2 separate regions of the Homo sapiens genome follow, and region 2 is linked to region 1. The links are contacts of gene promoters, found by promoter capture Hi-C in blood cells and fetal thymus (Javierre and others, 2016). All regions are on one chromosome and are shown on one strand. Each heading gives the region's core, a stretch centred on a gene start or on the middle of the fragment in contact. The rest is flanking DNA. Distances are from core to core; before and after follow the strand shown.

Region 1 (3,768 bases), core at 137-2,636:
GGGGTAGGCCCGGCTCAGCCCGGCCCCGGGACCGCCGCTGCCCACGGGCGGGGGCGCCCGGGCGGCCGGGACGATGCGCGGTCCCTGGCCCCAGGAGGCGGCCGCCCTGGGGGTGAGTGTTGGGGCGTACGGCCTTCCGTGGGGGTGCATGGGGACACGGACAGGGGGTTTGCCTGCCGCAGCTCGGCCTGTTGGTCTGCTCGGGCTCCGCAGCTCCAGGCTGGAGGGGAGCGGGGTGGGAGGCAGGCAAGGGCTGAGGCCTGAGGGGACGCGCAATCCCCATTCTGGGGCTAAGGCGTGAGCCCTACATGCAGGGGGTGCTCAGGGGAACCCCCCGAAATCACTAGTGCGCGGTAGGAGGATGGCACCTTTTGAAAAGGCCAGAAAATTTAGCTCATTTCCCCGCCTCCCACCTCCCCCACCCCTTCCCTTCCAAGCCCGGGGAAAGGCGCAGAACCCGGAGTTATAAAAAGCCATCGCGGGAGAGGAACGAGGAGGAGGAGTAGGAGGAGGAGGAGGAGGAGGAGGAAGAGGAGGAGGAGGGGGAGAAGGAAGAGGAGGGGGAGGAGAAGGAGGAGAAGGGGGCGGGGAAGGAGCGAGGGGAGGACGGAGCAGGCGGATCCCGAGGACTCTGCCCGCCCCTCCTGCGGTAGGGTTGGGGGCTCAGAGGGAGAGGCGAGAGCGGGCTTTTCCTCCTCGCGGCTCACCTTGTCGCTGGAGCAATCTCAGGAGATGCTCCAGTGTTTGGGAAGAGGGGTCGCTCCAGGACAGAGGGGCTGTTGTGCACACCCCGTCTGTTGTGACCTCGGACAGGTGGGCACCTGGAACCCCCGGAATTCCCCCAAATCTTTTAAGATTTGGAAAAAAGCCCGCTGCCATTCCCCCACCCCCAAAATCTTGATTATCTCGAGAAGGGGAAGGAAAAGAAGAGAACTCGTTAAAAAAAAAAAAAAGAAGGAAAGAAGAAGAAGAAAGAAAGAAAAAGATAAAGAAAGAAAGTTTTCATGCAGCTCCCCCTCTCTCCCCATGGCGGGGCCAGGTTCGGGACTCGATCGGGAGACCCATAATGAAGAGAGTTTCAGCACTCTAAGGGGCGGACAGCGCCCCGGGCGGCTGGGTCGCGCCTGGGCCGCAGAAGCCCAGGGTGGGGCCTCCCGGGCTCCAGGGGCATCTCTTGGGGCCCTCTCCCCGCCCCGAGGGGCGGCCCCTCCCTCCATCCATGGGGTGCGGCGGACTTCAGCACCGGCGGGAGGGACAGCGACCATCCGTCCTACCCCACTGAGCCGCTTAAGCGCGGGGGAAGGTCAAGGCCGGCTGGGAGCCTGGTGGAGAGGTGGGGGGCGGGGGGACAGCATGCCCAGCTCCCCGTTTGCTGACCCGCGTCCGCTTTCGCTTTCTGCCTCGCAGCCGTCGGGATGGAGGTGAGAAGACGGCCGTGACGCGCGCCCGCGGGGCCCCCTGCACCCCCAGCAGCCCACAGCGCTCCCTGCCCCCCTCCCCCGCAGCAGCGGGCCTTGCCGTCGAGTGACAGCGGCCTGGGGGGGCAGGGGGGGCGGGGGCGGCCGGATCAGCGATGCCGGCGGGCATGACGAAGCATGGCTCCCGCTCCACCAGCTCGCTGCCGCCCGAGCCCATGGAGATCGTGCGCAGCAAGGCGTGCTCTCGGCGGGTCCGCCTCAACGTCGGGGGGCTGGCGCACGAGGTACTCTGGCGTACCCTGGACCGCCTGCCCCGCACGCGGCTGGGCAAGCTCCGCGACTGCAACACGCACGACTCGCTGCTCGAGGTGTGCGATGACTACAGCCTCGACGACAACGAGTACTTCTTTGACCGCCACCCGGGCGCCTTCACCTCCATCCTCAACTTCTACCGCACTGGGCGACTGCACATGATGGAGGAGATGTGCGCGCTCAGCTTCAGCCAAGAGCTCGACTACTGGGGCATCGACGAGATCTACCTGGAGTCCTGCTGCCAGGCCCGCTACCACCAGAAGAAAGAGCAGATGAACGAGGAGCTCAAGCGTGAGGCCGAGACCCTACGGGAGCGGGAAGGCGAGGAGTTCGATAACACGTGCTGCGCAGAGAAGAGGAAAAAACTCTGGGACCTACTGGAGAAGCCCAATTCCTCTGTGGCTGCCAAGGTGAGTCTGGGATCTGGGGGCTGCTGGTCTGGGGGGATCTGCTTGCATCCCCATATTGAGGACCACTGCTGGAGGACTCTGGCTTTGTTCCCAACGATGAAGATTAGTAATGGGGAGGGGCTAGGACTGAGTCCCCAGAGGTGAGGACCAACCCCCTCAGACTTTTCCCATGTGGCACTGGTCACTCCATCTTTTTATTATCCAAGACGTTATACCCCTACTTGGTTGGAGAGGTTTCACAGGGACCCATAAAAAGCCACAGCAAGAAGATGGACACTGACGAATAAGAGAGAGAGCACAGAGAGACAACAGTGGCTTGCTGGGGTGGAGTAGGGTTTGCTTCCCTGTGAAGTCCCAGACCTAGGCTGGATTGGATCACCCTGTGATTTTAATATCTCCATATTTATAACCTCACTCTGCCCCAGCAAGGGAAAAAAGCAGCTTACAGACATGCTTACAGGACATTGAGATACTGTCAGATAGTTTAAACATAAGTAAGAAGGGACCCCGAGGGGTGGGTGTGGACCCACACGACACATGCAGTTGGTTGTGGATGCTTGCGGGTGAGGGGTCACCCCCTGGTTACTTATTTATTTGGTGAGTTTATTTCCAGAATGGTTTGGTGCAGCTTGTAAAGATGTTTCAGCTCTTGGAACAAGATGTAAATTTCAAAATAGGAGAGAAAAATGAGGCAATGTGAAAAATAAAGGAGGAGGAGGAGGAGGAGGCAGGAATGAGTTTGAACACAAAGAGTGGGCCAGAGAGTCTTTGGTGCTGCTGGGTAATGGCAGGGGCTGTAGGGGACTGAGGAAGGCTTGGGGTGGGAGCCAAGGCAGGGCAGGAGGGCACTGGTTGATCAGCAACTTCTCTACGTCAGGCTGGGATTTGGGGTTGCCTGGGAAAGATGGGGCCTGTCTTCATGTGCCCGAAGTGCTGGGTGCTGGGAGCAAATGACAAAACAGTGTGTGCAAGGCTATAAAAGAGGTTCTGTGAGGTTCACGGAGAACCCAGAAAAGAGAGATGTTGATGTTGAAATCCAGCAAGACCAACTTGGGAAACATGGGGAGAATGTAACTGAGTGTGGGGCCTAAAAAAAGGGGTCAGGTAAGTAGATTTGTGGTAAAAGAAAGAGGAGAGGAGGAAGCCTAAATATCCAGCCATATCTTACTAGCTAGGGCTGACTCCTGTCCAGCCCAGCCTTTCATTGTGGGGTCTCCGGCTCAGTTCTCACTGAAGGCCCACCTGCAGGTCCCAGTCTGAAGGGAGACTCCGTGGGGTCCTTCCTCCAGATCTAGCCACCCAAGGAGAGGCCCCTGAGAGTGGATGGAGAAGGGGTGGCTGGTAAGAGGGTGGAGGGAGCCCCCACGTGTTTTTTTCGTTTCCCTGTTGGCCCTAACAAGGATGTAGAGGCTCCTGGGCCTGGCTTCCTCCTCTGAGGCTGTGGGCTGTCTCTCTCCATAATCCCGCCCCCAATTTTGTGTCCAAAAAGCCTCCTCCTAAGACAGAGTCACTCACCCTTAATCAGCTTAGGATCAACAGACTTATTTTGCTATTTCCAGGCATGACACAGGTTCTCCCACTGCACATCCCATTTAGGCCCAAATGTGACTCTCCCTCCCTGTCCCATC
Region 2 (4,000 bases), core at 260-2,759, 390 kb before region 1:
CAGACTGCCAGTTCTTTTACCATGTGATTATAAAGTTTATCTTTAAAGTAATAGGCTTGGCATGGTGGCTCACACTTGTAATCCCAGGACTTTGGGAGGCCAAAGTGGGTGGATTGCTTGAGCCCAGGAGTTTGAGACCAGCCTGAACAACAGAGTGAGACTGGCTCTACAAAAAATACAAAACTAGTTGGGTGTGGTAGCACGTGCCTATAGTCCCAGCTACTCAGGAGGCTGAGGTGGAAGGATCACCTAAACCTGGGGAGGTCAAGGCTGCAGTGAGACGTGATTGTGCCACTGCACTCCAGCCTGGGTAACAGAGCATGATCCTGTCTCAAAAAATAAAATTAAAATAAAATAAAACTAAAGTAATAAACAGGATCCTATCACATATATGGTGCCTATTACCAGCAGAGTGATTTTTTTTCAAGGGCTTCCAACTCTCTTGTCGTGGTGCATATACTAGAAACCCAGCTCCTTCTCAGGCCTGCAGAACCTGTGAGGCAGCGTCCTGGCCACACTGGTCTTCCTTCTCTTCCTGGAGCATGCCACACTCCCGCACATCTATCTTCAGACCCCTGGCTCCTGCAGTTCCTGCTGCCAAAACCCTCCTTCCCTAGAGCGTCCCTGGGCTGGCTCCTCTCGCCACACAGGTCTGGGCTCCAGTGCCACCTCCAGGGGAGACCTCCCTGACTGCCTGAGATCCCATCCATTCTCTACCACATGCCACTCTCTGTCACATGGCTTTAATTTCTCTTCTTGTCATTTCTTGCCACCTGGAATTGTTGTATGGGTTTGCTTAAATTCTGGCTTTCTTCTGCAAGAAAAGGAAACTGATCTTGTGTTGTTTATAAATGTAGCCCCAACAGCAAGGATAGTTCTCAGCATAGGGTGGACATTTAATAAGTATTTCTTGAATGGGCGAGAGTTTGATTTTTCAACTTACTTTTAAAAAATTTAACAATATGTCAAATTCTTTCCATGGCAGTACAGACAGGTCAAGTTCATTTTTTAAGTAGCTGCACAGGATTCCATAGTGCAAATGGACTGGAATTTGATCTTTTCCATTACTGATGAACATATAGTTCCTTCCAGTTTTTCTCTCCCAAGCAGTGCTGCAATGGAATTCCTTAGATATCTGTGCAGAAGAGCACTGCACCATACATTCTATCTTTGGCCAACTTCATGCCAGTATCTTTTTATTTTTATTTTATTTTTTTTTTTGAGATGGAGTCTTGCTCTGTCGCCAGGCTAGAGTGCAGTGGCAGGATCTCGGCTCACTGCAACCTCTGCTTCCCTGGTTCAAGCAATTCTCCTGCCTCAGCCTGCCGAGTAGCTGGGACTACCAGCACGTGCCACCATGCCCAGATAATATTTTGTATTTTTAGTAGAGATGGGGTTTCACCATATTAGCCAGAATGGTTTTGATCTCTTGACCTCGTGATCCACCTGCCTTGGCCTCCCAAAGTGCTGGGATTATAGGTGTGAGCCACTGCGCCTGGCCCATGCCAACATCTTAAGAAAGTGTTATGTTGGCCGGGCGCGGTGGCTCACGCCTGTAATCCCAGCACTTTGGGAGGCCGAGGCGGACAGATCACGAGGTCAGGAGTTCAAGATCAGCCTGGCCAAGATGGTGAAACCCTGTCTCTACTAAAAATACAAAAAAAAAATTAGTCGGGCGTGGTGGTGGGCACCTGTAATCCCAGCTACTCGGAAGGCTGAGGCAGAGAATTGCTTGAACCTGGGAGGCAGAGGTCGCAGTGAGCCGAGATGGCACCACTGCACTCCAGACTGGGCTACAGAGCGAAACTCTGCCTCAAAAAGAAAGAAAGAAAGAAAGAAAGTGTTATCTCATGATTAATCTTGCAAACTCATCCTTCAAGCCCAAAGTCCCCTCCTCTGTGACTCACCTTGACAGAGTGTCACTCTCTCCCATCCCCTGCAAGCCCAGTGTTCGCTAACTGCTCTGCCTAAGTGGGGTCTATTCATCTTTGAATCTTTAGTGTCAGAGGCCAAAGTGGCCCTCAAAACTGGCTTGACTGAACAATAAAAATAGTTAACATGGATACAGTCAGAACAAATATTCTGAGAATAGCTAACGCTTGCTGAGTTATAATTAGGGAGACTGTTTGATTTGCTGTGGATACCAGGACATTTTTTAGAATAAACGGGGATATTATTAATTCATCATATTGAGACAGAGGGCAAACCAGGACTTCTGGCCACCCCAGCAGTGGCACAGATGCCCCATCAGGACTCTCACTTGCATCGCTCCCCACTCCTCAGCAAAGGCGTCAGGCTGGCCCTTTTGTCTATTTTATAATGAGGAAGTAGAGCATGGGGTGGTTAAGTCTGTAATCTGAGGTTACACAGCCAATAAGAGGTGGAGCTGGGATTCAAATCCAAGTCTGTCTGTTATCCAGCCCCAGTCCTTAGCAACTGTGTTCCCTACATGTGGATTTAGGTAAATAATTCCCACTTCCTAGGAAGAGAATGTCCTGCTCCATGGTCTTGGGAACCACTTGAGATCAGTCCTTTGTGATAGTCAGGAAAAGGGGAGCACACAAAGGAAGGTGAAGACAGCAGAAACCACCCTTTCCATCTGTGCTTTCACAGTGCAATGTGGGGCGTCCACACACCACACAGGGCCATCCTGCCCCTCTCTGAAAACCCTGCGTGACAAATACCCAAAAGGCAAAGTGCGGACAGAGCAGGTTCCCTCACCCAGAGGCAGATCTGGTGTTCCTGGCTTGCACTGCTGTGTGTGGAGCAAGGTCCCTAAGGAAATGAAACCCCTCTCAACAGGAAACACTGCCAGTCTGAAAAGAAGGTAAGAAAAACACTCCCTTATTTTAATCACAGATTCCAAACAGATGCATGAAACACATCTTTGCCAACAGGTACTCAATGATCTTCTCAAGGGGGTAGAGGAACAATTTAGAAAAACAGATGTAAAAATAGCTAGGCTAGAGCCGAATGACTCACAGGTAACGTTTTTGTAAGTGCCAACATTCAGTAAAGAAAGGGAACCTCATGGCAGACACCAGGATGGAATTACCCTGGTGAACTGGTCTGCGATGAAAAACAAAACCCTGAAAATGGTGAGTCCACTCTGCTTCCTCCTTGTGCTGCTCATGCAGCACCCAAGTGTGACTCCGGATAGCGACTGGGTAGAAAAGTTCTGTCAACTGAGTCACTAGAGACCACTGGGCCTTCAGCTTTGCGTCTGAAGAAATTACTGCTACACAGAACACTGTCCTGCTCTACATAACTAGAAAACCTGATACAAGATATGAAACAAAACTATTTTCTGACATGGGACAAAAGATAGGGTAGGACTGTGATTCCTGCCGGAAGGGAGACAAAGGTGGCCACTCTTTCCCTAGGCCCCCTGCTGAGCTGACTGCCTGAGGCTGAGGCTTTAAGAGGGCTGTCCTGTTGAGTCGGGGAAGCTGCACAGAAAGAGAGCTCTTGGACATCTACTGTAAAGTCCCCTTGAGTCTTTGACTGATACTGATCAGTAAATATGTCGGATGAAACAAGAAGCTGGGGAAAGAACCATTAAAAAGAAGTAGGCTGAACAATTCCAGAAGCTGACATGGGTGGGAATAGTTTGCGTTCCCACCAGCCAGAGTGGAGTGAGCTCACGGTACCTGAGACACCTTAGTTAGGGCCCTGCTACTCTGCACCAGCCCTAAAAAAGTTTAAATGTAAGCCTCAAGAAGGATTAAACTGATGTCAAGAGACTTAGATACGTGCCAGAAGAAAAGTCCAGAAATAACACACACACACAAAAAAAATTGTTTTTAAAAGAAAAGTCCAGAACTCCGTAAAGGAATACAATAAAATCTTGTGCTCAACAACATAAAACTTCACAATGACTGACATCCAATCAAAACTTAATAACAAGCAAAGAGCAAGAAAATGTGACCTATAAGCACAAGAAAAATCAACAACAAAACAGACCTACAGTTGACAGAGATGACGGAATTAGCAAACAAGG

Evidence for each region. Contacts are between HindIII fragments. The CHiCAGO score rates a contact against its expected background, and 5 or more counts as called.
Region 2: a fragment that was not itself captured here is called in contact with the fragment with the promoter of KCNB1 in region 1 in 1 of 17 cell types (endothelial precursors); the score reaches 5.2 in endothelial precursors.

Annotation. Positions count from the first base shown.
Region 1 is chr20:49,480,286-49,484,053 of GRCh38, reverse strand. It overlaps KCNB1 (potassium voltage-gated channel subfamily B member 1), which reads left to right and starts at 1,386. Exons shown (of 2, transcript NM_004975.4): 1 at 1,386-2,140. The coding sequence starts at 1,574. The HindIII fragment of the contact is 15,223 bases long and covers 1-3,768 here.
Region 2 is chr20:49,867,053-49,871,052 of GRCh38, reverse strand. The region is part of intron 10 of SLC9A8 (solute carrier family 9 member A8); the gene reads right to left. Among named protein-coding and RNA genes, the nearest start is that of MIR12122, 5.2 kb to the right of the region's middle. RefSeq lists enhancers at 2,904-2,953, 3,194-3,303. The HindIII fragment of the contact is 5,734 bases long and covers 1-4,000 here.